Linked DNA regions of Homo sapiens: regions 2, 3, 4 and 5 are each linked to region 1. Evidence: promoter capture Hi-C in 16 types of primary human blood cells and fetal thymus (Javierre and others, 2016). All regions are on one chromosome and are shown on one strand. The core of a region is centred on a gene start or on the middle of the fragment in contact, and the rest is flanking DNA. Distances in the headings are between cores, read along the strand shown.

Evidence for each region. The method cuts DNA at HindIII sites, captures the fragments that hold promoters and counts their contacts. A CHiCAGO score of 5 or more calls a contact.
Region 2: a fragment that was not itself captured here is called in contact with the fragment with the promoter of OR10AG1 in region 1 in 1 of 17 cell types (erythroblasts); the score reaches 7.0 in erythroblasts.
Region 3: a fragment that was not itself captured here is called in contact with the fragment with the promoter of OR10AG1 in region 1 in 1 of 17 cell types (erythroblasts); the score reaches 6.8 in erythroblasts.
Region 4: a contact is called between a fragment that was not itself captured here and the fragment with the promoter of OR10AG1 in region 1, in 4 of 17 cell types (erythroblasts, M1 macrophages, endothelial precursors and 1 more). The highest score is 8.4, in erythroblasts.
Region 5: a fragment that was not itself captured here is called in contact with the fragment with the promoter of OR10AG1 in region 1 in 1 of 17 cell types (erythroblasts); the score reaches 5.3 in erythroblasts.

Annotation. Positions count from the first base shown.
Region 1 is chr11:55,968,650-55,971,210 of GRCh38, reverse strand. OR10AG1 (olfactory receptor family 10 subfamily AG member 1) reads left to right here and starts at 1,266. Exons shown (of 2, transcript NM_001005491.2): 1 at 1,266-1,319. The coding sequence starts at 1,304. The HindIII fragment of the contact is 3,009 bases long and covers 272-2,561 here.
Region 2 is chr11:56,806,583-56,809,143 of GRCh38, reverse strand. No RefSeq gene overlaps it. Among named protein-coding and RNA genes, the nearest start is that of LINC02735, 41 kb to the left of the region's middle. The HindIII fragment of the contact is 357 bases long and covers 1,101-1,457 here.
Region 3 is chr11:56,786,003-56,788,563 of GRCh38, reverse strand. No RefSeq gene overlaps it. Among named protein-coding and RNA genes, the nearest start is that of OR9G4, 39 kb to the right of the region's middle. The HindIII fragment of the contact is 2,975 bases long and covers 1-2,561 here.
Region 4 is chr11:56,767,348-56,769,908 of GRCh38, reverse strand. No RefSeq gene overlaps it. Among named protein-coding and RNA genes, the nearest start is that of OR9G4, 20 kb to the right of the region's middle. The HindIII fragment of the contact is 2,071 bases long and covers 240-2,310 here.
Region 5 is chr11:56,721,810-56,724,370 of GRCh38, reverse strand. No RefSeq gene overlaps it. Among named protein-coding and RNA genes, the nearest start is that of MIR6128, 21 kb to the left of the region's middle. The HindIII fragment of the contact is 561 bases long and covers 1,001-1,561 here.

The sequences.
Region 1 (2,561 bases), core at 17-2,516:
AAAGTGGCCCGAGAGGCTGCAGTGCAGGGAGGGTGCTGGTGGGCTGGCCTGTGTCTGCACAGGCTACTCTGCTGGATCAGTCTGCTGGTCAGCCGGGGGTCCACCAGCACAGGAGCTATGATGTGGCCCCCAGGAGGTACCTGGCTGGGGGCCAAGCTGGGACCCAGGAGAGGCCAGCAAACTGAGTGGTGCTGAAGTTAGAATAGCCTCATGTAGTGGGTGAGACTGCCGTGCAGAATTCAGGTCCCATAGTTCCCATAGGGCTAAAGCTTCCTACGGGAGCAGGTCAAGCCTGGGGGGATGGGCATCCCTGGCCATGCTCCACTACAGACACTTTCACACTAAACCCTCTGGATTCCACACAGGCTGGAGTTCTGCCCCTACCACTTGTCTAAGCATCTCTCCCTGCCAGTTCAAGTGTTACTTGTGGTCCAGGGGTTTTCTCCTGCTGGGATTCGGAGGCTCATGGAAAGAGAGGGTTGCTCCTTGCCCATTCAACTCATGCTTTTGCAGGAGTCACTGGGGGCCAGGAATGCTTCCTGTGTGTGGTACCCCCATGCAGAATTCCTTTCCTTCTGAAGATTTGCTAGGAGTGCACCAATCTTCCTGATGTCCTGGTCCCTCGTGGGCGATGTTCCTCTTGACTGCGTCTAGTGGGACGTCTTGGAGTGGTATATTACATTTTCAATCAGCTGGATACATTTCCCTGGTGCCTTATAGACAACACAGAATGAAATAAATGTATAGATAGATTTTCTCAGCAGAATTAACATGTTTTAATATCCACAAAAAAAGTTAACCTAGGAACAGAGGGTTCCACATCTGAAAAAGAATCTCACCGTTCAATATGTCGAAGACATCAAGCATATCATGTTCGTGTGATTAAACACATGATATATTTTTTAAAGGTCTAGTTAATTTGGATCTGGATAAATTATTGGAATAGAAGTAAGGCAGACAAATCCACACTAAGTATTAGGGGCCTCAAATACACAGTTGGAAAATTTTTAACTTTTTCCTGAAAGTAATACTAGACAACTAAATGGTATTTAATTAACTCCCCTCATGAGGAGATGAAGAGGAGGATAAGTTTACTTAAAGTAGTTTTGAAAAATGAATCAGAATGATTGACAAACAGAAGCAGCCTTCTAGAAATTAAACTGATACTCAAGAGAAGACACATCCCAGGTTGAGTCTGACTATTCCTATATAAGAGCTGTTGCTGTTTGAAACAAGCAAGCGTATTGCAAAATTACAGTTCCCGAGAAAAGGAAGAGCTTAAAAAGTCTGTACAGACAGCTTCATGCAAATCCCTAAAGGTAAGCCATAATTGGGTTGACAGACTATTTTATTTAAGAATAGTTACAAGTTTGTGGATAGAAATGCAACTAATAAAACAGAAAAGCATGAAATTTTGAGACCTTTATCTGAAAATTAATTATTTAACATTTAAATCATGTATCTCTTCACTACAAAGTTAAATAAAATTAGATGTCCAATAATGGTAAAATTGCATTAGTGATGAAAAGTCATTTAAGGCAATTTTGAAAACTAGTACTAATAGAAATGTATAAATATGAGATAGTATTTGTCTGATCACTTTCATTTATCAACGTATTAAGTCAAATGCATTGGCTGACCGGGCTAAAATAGGTATAGGTGCAGCAGATTTGAAGACACAGAAAAAAAGAATTTGTTTAGAAAGTTGGAGAACAAACGTTAAGCAAGTGTAATGGGAATTGACAAGCAGTGATTTCCTCATATTGGATGACATTGACATGAAGTGAAGCAAGACAGTGTGTTTTTGTTTTGTTTTGTTTAATTTTTTGGTCCCATTTATATGCTCTGGCCACTTAGATGGCCAGAGTAAATGTTAGCTGGGTTTAATCAAAGAATTTTACTTTAATAAGGCAACAGGATGAAGGGAAAATAGAGAGAAGGAATTGTATTTGGTTGAAAGGAACTGTATTTGGTTATATGACAATGGAGAAATTCACTTAGATAAAAAAAAGAAATGTAAAAAAAATTGTGATGAATTTCTACATCTTGATTAAGTTATAATTTAATTACTATTTAGCATTCACTGTATTCAGGGCAATAACAGGGGAAGTCAATAAACTGCCTACTGGTATTAGTGTTTTTATATTTAGCATAAATAATAGGAGAGAGACATGAAGTAGAGCAACAATAATGCATGTATTTAGTCTCTCAGTAACCAAGAAATTGTTTAAGATAATTGATTCTCACTGGTGCATAAAAGGAAAAGTTTAAAATTCATTTTGAGTATGAATTAATCGTAATATTCAAGGGCAACATTTTGAATTAAAAAAACTGGAATATGACTACCAATACAAAGAAAAATGATATTCTCAGATGAAATAGTAAAAGCCTACACTATAACTCTACTCTTAAGTGTGAAATAATAAGATGTTATTCCTCCATAATATTTTCTAAACAACAATGCATGCTTCTCAATGCCTCTGGTTGCATTATATCCCAGTATAATAAAATATATTGAGGTTTCATTTCTTAAATTGATTTTAATGCTAAATCAGTTTATT
Region 2 (2,561 bases), core at 30-2,529, 840 kb before region 1:
TACATGGAATGCTGTCAACTTTAAATACTTTCTGATAGAAATTTCCTATGAGATGAGAAGATGGGTGGATGTATTCCATCTGCCAAATTCTTTCTTATTCTGTTTTTCACTTTTGATAGCTTTTGGTTGTTGTCATTGTCATATCATCATTGCTTGTGATATTTATTTTTCCATTCTATAATATTCATAATCTTTTAGTTCTTGTCCTCTATGTAAAGATATTCACTCTAATATAGTCTGAATAATTGTATCTTTTGACCAAAATCTCCTTTTTATCCCCACCCCTACTTCCAGATCCCGGTAGCCATCATTCTACTCTCTACTTCTATGAGTCTGACTTTTTTTTAGAATCCACGTGTAAGTGAGATCATGTGGTATTTAACTTTCTGTGCCTGGCTTATTTTATTTAGCATAATGTTTCTAGGTATATCAATGTTGTCACCAAATTTCCTTATTTTTTATGACTGAATATACTACTAAATACATAAACTTTTCTTCCTCTAGTCATCCATTGATCAATACTTAAGTTGCTCTCACATCTTGGCTATGGTGAATAATGCTGCAATAAAAATGGAAGTGCAGATATCTCTTCAACATATTGATTTAGATTTTTTTGGACATACGCCCAGAAGCAACATTGTTGGAATGTATGATAATTCTGTTTTTAGTTTTTTGAGGAATCTCCACACTGTTTTTAATTATGACTGCCCTAATTTACATTTCTACCAACAGTTTACAAGGATTATCTTTTCTCCACATTATTACCAATATTGGTCATTTTTGTATTTTGATAATACTCATTCTAACAGATGCTAGTTGATATTTTATTACATTTTCATGATTGTTAATGATGTTGAATATTTTTTATATACTTGTTGGCCATCTGTATGTCTTGTTTTGAGAAGTGTCTATCAAGCCTTTTTGGCCATTTTTTTTTTTTTTTTTTTTTTTTTTTTGCTGTTGAGTTATGTGAGTTCCTTACACATTTTGGATAAGGAAGAAATGAAGCACCTGATCAGATATATAGTTTTCACATCTTTTCTCTCAATCCATGGGTGTTTTTTTTCACTGATAACTTTTTCTTTTCGTGTTCAGAAGCTTTGTAGTTTGCAACTTAATTTGTCTAGTTTAGCTTCTGTTGCCTGTGCTTTTGGGCTAATAAACAAACACACAAAAAAATAATGCCCGGACTAATGTGATGGAGCTTTTACCCTTTATCTTTTTTTCTATTAATCTCACAGTTTGAGGTTTTAAATTTTGAATCCATTTTGGGTTGATATTTATATGTGGTGCAAGATAAGGTTTCTCATGATCCAACCCCTAAAAGAAATTAGATTAATTTCCTAACTCCCCTTTTTACAGCCATACTCTTAGAAGTATTTGTCCATTTATTCACTTACTCATTTGTCTGAAAATATTCATCGAGCACTTATTTTTTAATGAACTCTTTGGAAGCTTGGGAATATATTGTGGACAATCCTACAAAATCCCTGCTCATTCTTATGGGGTAGGTGAATGCAATAACAAGTCAATGTTAGTTAATACCAATTACTTTCAATAAAAATAAAACTGGGCAAAGAGAAATGAAGTGAACGAGGCTGAGTTGGGGTCAGCTGTACTCTTTTCCGAAGGATGATTGGAGAAAGCCTTTCTGATGAGAGGATATTGTAGCAGAAACTCGGATAAAATGAAACAAATTGTGCAGCTATTTGGAGAGAATTGTTTTGAGAAGAAGGAAAAAAGAGAGCAAAGATTCTGAGGAAGGATCTTGGTTTGCTGGTTTCAAGAGGGCAAAGTGGACTGGGTGAGTGGGGGAAAGATAGGACATCCTAGGCTTTTCTTTTCTTCTTCTTCTTATTATACTTTAAGTTTTAGGGTACATGTGCAAACGTGCAGGTTTGTTACATATGTATACATGTGCCATGTTGGTGTGCTGCACCCATTAACTCGTCATTTAGCGTTAGGTATATCTCCTAATGCTATCCCTCACCACTTCCCCCATCCCACAACAGGCCCCAGTGTGTGATGTTCCCCTTCCTGTGTCCATGTGTTCTCATTGTTCAATTCCCACCTATGAGTGAGAACATGTGGTGTTTGGTTTTTTTTGTCCTGGCGATAGTTTGCTGAGAATGATGGTTTCCAGCTTCATCCATGTTCCTACAAAGGACATGAACTCATCATTTTTTATGGCTGCATAGTATTCCATGGTGTATATGTGCCACATTTTCTTAATCCAGTCTATCATTGTTGGACATTTGGGTTGGTTCCAAGTCTTTGCTGTTGTGAATAGTGCTGCAATAAACATACGTGTGCATGTGTCTTTATAGCAGCATGATTTATATTCCTTTGGGTATATACCCAGTAATGGGATGGCTGGGTCAAATGGTATTTCTAGTTCTAGATCCCTGAGGAATGGCCACACCGACTTCCACAATGGTTGAACTAGTTTACAGTCCCACCAACAGTGTAAAAGTGTTCCTATTTCTCCACATCCTCTCCAGCACCTGTTGTTTCCCGACTTTTTAATGATTGCCATTCTAACTGGTGTGAGACGGTATCTC
Region 3 (2,561 bases), core at 31-2,530, 820 kb before region 1:
ATTATTAGGAATATGATAAAGTCTAATGAATATTAGAACCATCTAGCGACTGTTATTACTAGCACACTAGTTATATTTAATAATGTAAATGTCCACACCAGGAGTGATTTATTGGAAAAAAAACATGTGTTCCCCATTCCCATCTACAGAATTGAAAATATAAAAGGTTACTTTGCTTAAAAATAATTTTTTAAATAAAAGGAATTCTTTTTCTTATATTCCTTTGAATTTATTTTATGCCTATTTTCTTTATTTTTATATTCTAAAAACAAAATAAATCATCATTATAACAGAAAATATAAAATATAAAGGAAAAGAGGAGCAACAATAAAAATAAAAACCCTAGAATCTTACTATTTCATACAGAGACAAATCCTGGCAATAATTTTCAGATGACTCTCTGTGTATTTGACTCTTAAGTCATTTCAGCTATTACTTTATTTGTTGATATTTAGTTTTTTTCTTAGTTCTTTTAGGTAAAAATAAATGGGAATAGCTTATTATAGAAACTAGAAATAAAATGCAAGAAAGTGAATAGTAAAATAGAAAAATTTTTAAAATTCAGAGGCACTGGGTATGGAAAAGTTAGAGGTAAATTAAAATACAGAAAATTTACAGCCTATTTTCATGTTACCCATTTTTGTTGTTTCCAAATTGAAAAAGAAATATAATAGACAAAATTTTAAAATAGTTTTAGCATCTTTTTGTTTCTTTGAAATTAAGGAAGAGTTTCTGGTCAGAAAAGTGGATGCAGAGCTGATCCTGTGCATCTAAAATAACTCTTCATACAGAACCCCAATTTCAGAATGAATCAGGTGCTATCAGATCTTCTCCAGTGTTTACAAACTTCCCTGGAACACATTGGGATGATATGTGTGGACACTCAACTTTCCCCAAGGCTCTCAATATTTCATGGGTGTCTCATTGAAGGAGAGACCAATAGACATGTTCAGATGGAAAGCGGTCTTGTCTGGACTCAGAACAATGGGTCAGTAACTGCAATCTCCTTGAATTGCACTTGAGCAATTCCAATGCCAAAAATAATGGGTTGAAGGCAAATCTAATGATGTTGACAGAAAACAGACTGTCTGTAGCCTGAGTGTGATGAGAGGCTTTGCACCCTCTTAGAGATTTCAGAAATCACTTTTTCCAACCACAGTTTTTACCATATTTTAAAAGTAGTAAACAACATTTTTCTTGAAATGAGAAAATTGTTCCACTTAGTAAGATTATTATATAATTTAATGTATTAATTGAATCAAAACGTCTTTGGCCTAATAAGAATATAAAATATATGGGCCTAAATTAAAAAAATACTTTCTCTTGTTGCCTAGGAAAAGCAATAAATACATACTTTTAGAGACCTAAAATTATTAGAGAATGTTTGGAAAGCAGAACACAAAGAAAGTAAAACTCACATGTAATTTCACTACTCACATATGAAAACAATGGTAATATACATCAAAATAGATATTTTTTTCTACTATTTAAAATTTATATGTTTGTACCATATATATAGGATTCTGAAATATAAAAATGCAGATAGTTTATTTTATAAGACAATGGGATCTAGAAAAACACACGTTCTTGTCATGTAATTTTGTTTGTATAAATAATCTATGCTAAATCCATTGTTTACACTCTTCCAGCATTTTCTTATATGTAGGTATATATATTTTTACAAGATTTTTATAGGATTTTATATTAAATGTTATTTTTAGCTTGCTTTTAACTAGATAAATCCTAAATATTTTAAAATAAATTATGTGCTATTAGATATTCTTCGCAAGAGGATTTTTAGTTGTCAAAATTAAGTTAAAAAATATGTATATGGTGACTCCTGATTAGCAGGCATTATTCCAAGTCCTGAGGATACAGCAGTAAATGAGACAGGAAAAGTTCTTTTCTCCTTTGGAGGGAGAGAAGCGTGCATTTAATGGCGAACCAGCTAGGGATTAGTATTACTACAAATAAAGAAGAGCTAGGGATCAGCACTACTACAAAAAAAGAAGAGCTAGGAATCATTATCCTACAAAAAAAGAAGGATCAAATATATCTCATGATGGAGACAGGATCATACAGTTTATTTACAGTGGGGTTGGGATTCTAACTCAGGTCCTCAGACAGCAAAACTTGTGCTTTTAGCTATCATACAAATGCCAGCATGAAAGGAAGATCATCTAAGGGGAAAAAATGGCTAAGAAGAAAAGAAGCCAAATAAATTACATTTACCTCTGTAGCAAATACTACTAAAGAGGAATTCCATCTTTCATTCTCCTCTTGCTTAATGGAAGCCCCATTTTTAGCTGGTCACATTGCAACCAAGATAGAACACTACATTTTTCAATCTCCTTTGTACGTGGCTGTTGCCACATGACAAAGTACTGAAATGTAAGAAGAAAATGTGTGAGGTTCTTCTGGGAAGTCTCCTTAGATGTTTAGGTTAGCATTCTTCTTGTCACCTGTCTCCTTTTTGTGACCTAAATGTAGATTCAGTGGCAGTCATTTTGTACTATGGGGAAACATTCGGGCTCCTGTCACTGTATAGTAGCCTTATCTGC
Region 4 (2,561 bases), core at 26-2,525, 800 kb before region 1:
ACTTTAGCATAGAAAGTGTTTCCAGAACTATGGCATTAAATAAATCTGTTTATATTGATGGAACCAGTGTTATTTGACAATGGAACCTTTTGTCTGAGTTATAGGCAGAAGTTCTGTCCCAGGATTACAGTTTGAAAAACAATGTTATGTAGGGAAAGAAAGAACACGATAGGAATGTAAATCTTTCCTGTCACTTAAGGTAAAATAAATTGAGTTTTGAGAAGTGATAGAGAGAAGCTTTACCACTTAAAAATAGATCTTTAAAATTTTTGTTTCTTAAAGAAAAGGAATGAGAAGGGCATGAGGAAGAAAGAATTTAGTCAATATTTGCTCTGAAAAATGACTCAGATAACCAATGGTAAAGATAAGCATAATACTAGCAAAACATATGGGGGTACTGGTGTATTTTCTAGGCTTAAAAGGGGTGTAGAAAAAACATGCTAGATAGGTTTGACCATATATCATAAAACTTCCATGGTCAAAAAATTAAAAATCAATTTAAAATGTGGGAAAATATTTGTAGAAAATACATACCTGGAAGTTTTCTTACTATTTTTGCAAAGGGCTCATAGATATATGAGAACAGTTCTGACTAAAATGTCCAGAGAAAATGCTTAAACCAAACATTGGAAAATATCTCACAGCTTGGTAAGTAAAATGCACTTTGTTCTTGTAAATGGCAAAATAAATTTGTAAATATCTATCAAGAGGCTTTAAAATGCTTCTGTAGTTGGACTCAGTAATTTCATTACAAATAACTTGTCCAATGGAAAGAACTCCAAATGGGGAGTAAGATGGGGTGGCACCTCTTATTCAGGGACGTGTTTGTTGCTGAGTCTGTGCATAACCCAAGCATCCCCTGGATATTTTAGCTTATAGCTTAAAATGACATGCTTTTTCCTTTAATGTCAAATTATAATAGACTCCAGTTCTCATTCTTCTGGGCTGCAAGAAATGCAACTGTACCAGTGTCTCTTCTCCATGGAGTTCAGGGTATTCCAGGGGAAACAATGAGTGCTGGTGCTCTCCTGCCTCCTTGATTGCCTCTGGCTGCTTCTGCTCCACTGACAGGCTCCAGGACTAATTGCTGCAAGTTTCTTCTGCTTCCCTGCTGTGGCTAGTCTTCCCTCTGCCATTTCTTCCCAAACCTGCAAACCAGCCTATCTTATCCAGAGCCACCCACAGCATAGTTGAGGCCAGTCTGCAACTTCTAATGAGTCTTTATTAAAGACTGGGTATAATAAGAGAAAAACATGTAATTCTGGGAACATTTTGGAGCTATGACATGGCTTACCCTGAGCCTACAGGTAGATTGCTCCATGGGCTTCAGAAAGACAAGTCTCATCAGAACAAAGGAGTCAATTCATAGATTATTTTGCCAAAGGTTTAGTGATTTAGTCTTGAACAACATTACGTGTGGGTCTCCACAGTCAAGTCTTGGTTGAGTTCAGCCAAACTGTACAGTCTTGTCTTCATTTAAAGGTGCTTCCTGTAGAGTTTCAAACCATAATTTTTAAATAAGAATCTAATTCAAGGAGAACACAATGAATTGGCCACAATTTAGAGGGATATTGCTATCTAAATTCTTTCTTACAAAAGAATCATTTCTCCCAATCGCTATCTTTCAAACATGTCCCACAGAAGGAAATATAGAAAGACCCAGTAGAGTCATACAAATATACAACTGGAAGAAGAGTTCCACAAAATATACTTAGTTTTACTCCTTCAATACACTTTAAATATTCTGCTTCAGAAATCAGCAGACTATGATTTGTGTATCAAATCCAGCTTGACACCTGTGTTTGTACAACTTGCAAGTCAGGAATGGTTTTTACATTCTTAAATGATTGGAAACAGTCAAAAGGAGAATATTTTATGACTCATGAAAATTATTTGTAATTTAGATTTTAGCATCCATAAAAAAAGTTTTGCTGGAACACAACCATCTTTATATTAGAATCTCTCAACAACAGTTCTACTGACATTTTGGCCTGGATAACTCTTAATTGTGGGGATATCCTTTGCATTGTAAGACATTTAACCACATTCTGCCCTCTGCATTAGATGCCTTTAACACCCCTCATTCCAGGTGTGATAACCAAAAATGTATCCACATGTAAGGTAATAATATATAAACCACAACTACTGATTTATGAATAGTCCTTGGATGCTTTGGGACTACAAGGGCAGTGTGGGGTTCCTCTATTTTTCCCATTTTTTCTTTGTCTTGACCAAAAAATATGGAGTATCTTGATTGCTCTTGTGACCTTACCAGCTCCATGTTTTTCCCTGCATACTTGAACTCAAGCTTGGACATTTCCAGGCACTGATACACTTGTTTAGGTTGTTGTCTCAGATACGAAAAGAAACTAGCCCTGGTCCTGAGATGAATTCTTTAAACTGTCCTATAAATTCCATAACCCAACACATTCATTGGGCATATGCCCAGCAGAACCTCCCTTTCTCTTGCCATCTGTCATGAGGATTGCTGCAGCACTTTGTAAATTTCTCTAATAAATGCTTTGGATGGATCACCCTGGTGTTTAGTGTTTCTATCTTTG
Region 5 (2,561 bases), core at 32-2,531, 750 kb before region 1:
GTAAAGCAATGGATTGCTTTTTTTTTTTTTTTTTTTTGAGACAGAGTCTCGCTCTGTTGCCCAGTCTGGAGTGCAGTGGTGCGATCTCGGCAGCTCACTGAGACCTCTGCCTCCCAGGCTCAAGTGACTCTCCTGCATCAGCCTCCCCAGTAGCTGGGATTACAGGCATGTGCCACCACACTCGGCTACTTTTTTTGTATTTTTAGTAGAGACAAGGTTTAACCATGATGGCCAGGTTGGTCTCAAACTGCTGACCTCAAGTGATCTGCCTGCTTCAGCCTTCCAAAATGCTGGGATGGATTGTTTTTTTATGTAAAATATTTCAATGTATTAAATTTTTATATATTATCACCTACTGACAGTTTGATGTACTTTCTTCTCCTATCAGCATTCTCTTCTCCATCCCATCACCAGTAGCCTTTGCTCAATAGTTCACAGGTCTAACTATTCTTAGGGAGCCCAGGGTGATGCTCTTTCCCTTTGACTCTTCCATCCCTTCGTTCACATATTTTGCTCTGAGGTTCATTACTCAGAAAAGATAATTGAGTTTTATTGAGCTCAGCTACCTCTGAGACTGTTAAGAAAAGTATATAATTCTTCTCACTGGAAAAAACAATGCTCATAATACACCCTGGGACACACACACACACACACACACAAAAAAATGGTAAAACACACATTTCCTTTGTGTTTCCCTGGATACTTACTTATGTACACTGGTAGAGAGGATGGTTTGACAAGCCAACATCTGTATTTCTTAATCAGAACAAGAAGACTATAATAGCTGGCAGGAAGTACTAACCAGCTAACATACTATCCTTCCTAACTAATATTATATTTTTATATTAAAAGCTAAAAGTGCATTCTTCATCCAAAATTATTAAAATACAACTTTTTGTATTTAGAGATATGCTTCTATTGTTAGAGGTTTCCTTAAAATTACCATATGCCTTCACACTTTCTTAAAGAATATCAAACTTTAAAAGCAACATGTTAAGCTTTTCTTGATGTCTTTTGGCCGTTAGACTGATAATATCTTCTATTTAATTCTTTCTTCTCATTCTTGCTCTTGAGATATTAACAAGACTATCTCTTTTGTTAGTGGCTCCTAATCGTTGCCTGTTTGTGCATTTGTTTTTTTTTCTTCCCTTGCAATTTTCTGTGTTGTTAATTGCTCTTTTTTTTGAATCTAATAGTGTGAAATTCTACTTCTGTGTGTGAGCTGCCAGCAGTTTTAGAAATTAAAACAGGAAGATGATGAATATATTTCAAAACAGGGGCAGTGGCTCACACCTGCAATCCCAGCACTTTGGGAGGCTGAGTGTAGGAGTTCAAAACGAGACTGGGTGACAAGGTGAAATCTTGTTTCTACAAAAAATAAAAAAAAAAAATTAGCCAGATGTGATAGGGTGTACCTGTAGTCCATGCTCCTCCAGAAGCTGAGGTGGGAAGATTGCTTGATCTTGGGAGATTGAGGTTGCAGTGAGCCATGAAGGCACCTCCACTGCACTCCAGCCTGGGCAACAGAGTGAGACTCTGTCTCAAGAAAAAAAGAAAAGCTTTCTTTAGCACTTATCATATATTACTATGTAAATGGTTATTGGACTGGTTATGAGGAAGAAGAAAAATTTTCCATCTACATTTAACATTTGAATTAAGCAACTTACCTAAAATTCTCAGCAACACCATCATCTCAATAGAATTTAAGTTTGCCTTTCCCAGATTCTTTTATGTCAGAGTATGAATTCCCAGGGTTACGGATTCCTGAAACCCCTCAGGGTTTCACAATTTGGAGAATAGCTAACAAGGCAATTAAACTAAATTTTGTATTGATGAATTGGGGATTATTACTGAGAAAGGAGGAAAAATTTTGGAGACTATGATTCCCTTGTGAAAAATGTAATTAGTTATAATTTTTATTCTCATTCTCCCTTGAGTTGTGCAGAAGCTTAACTATAATATGTATACACATATATTATGTGTGTTATTAATATTCATATGTTTATATTTGCATATTAAAACACATACGAACTTCCTTACTAATATTTCTGTTGTATGTTGGATGTATCTCATTTTTCCCTCCAAATCCATTCTCCATCCTTCTAAACTCCTTTTTTTGCTCCAGGATGTTCACCTGTATTAATTTGCATCAGTGGGATCTTTGCTTACTATTTAATAGCTTTACCCAATGGTTATCAATGGCAGGGAGGACAGTGAAGGCAGAGAGTTTCCCCCAGGCTCCTTATCTACAGACATGGCACAACTGGTGTATCCATGGCCTTAGACCATAGCTACTAACAGGTGACCCTTTTTCAAAACTCTTTCTTCAGTGCCCATAACCTCTCTCTCTTCTTGTATGATTAAGGATAGAGGTGGTAACAGTGCTCAGAAGTTATTAGTTCTAGGGTGTATTAGTAAGCGTTCTCCAGAGAGACAGAACCAATAGGAGATAGAGAGATAGATAGATAGATAGATAGATAGATAGATAGATAGATAGATAGACAGACATAGAGGTTTACAAGAGGGGGTTTATTAGGAAAATTGGCTCACGTGATTAAGGA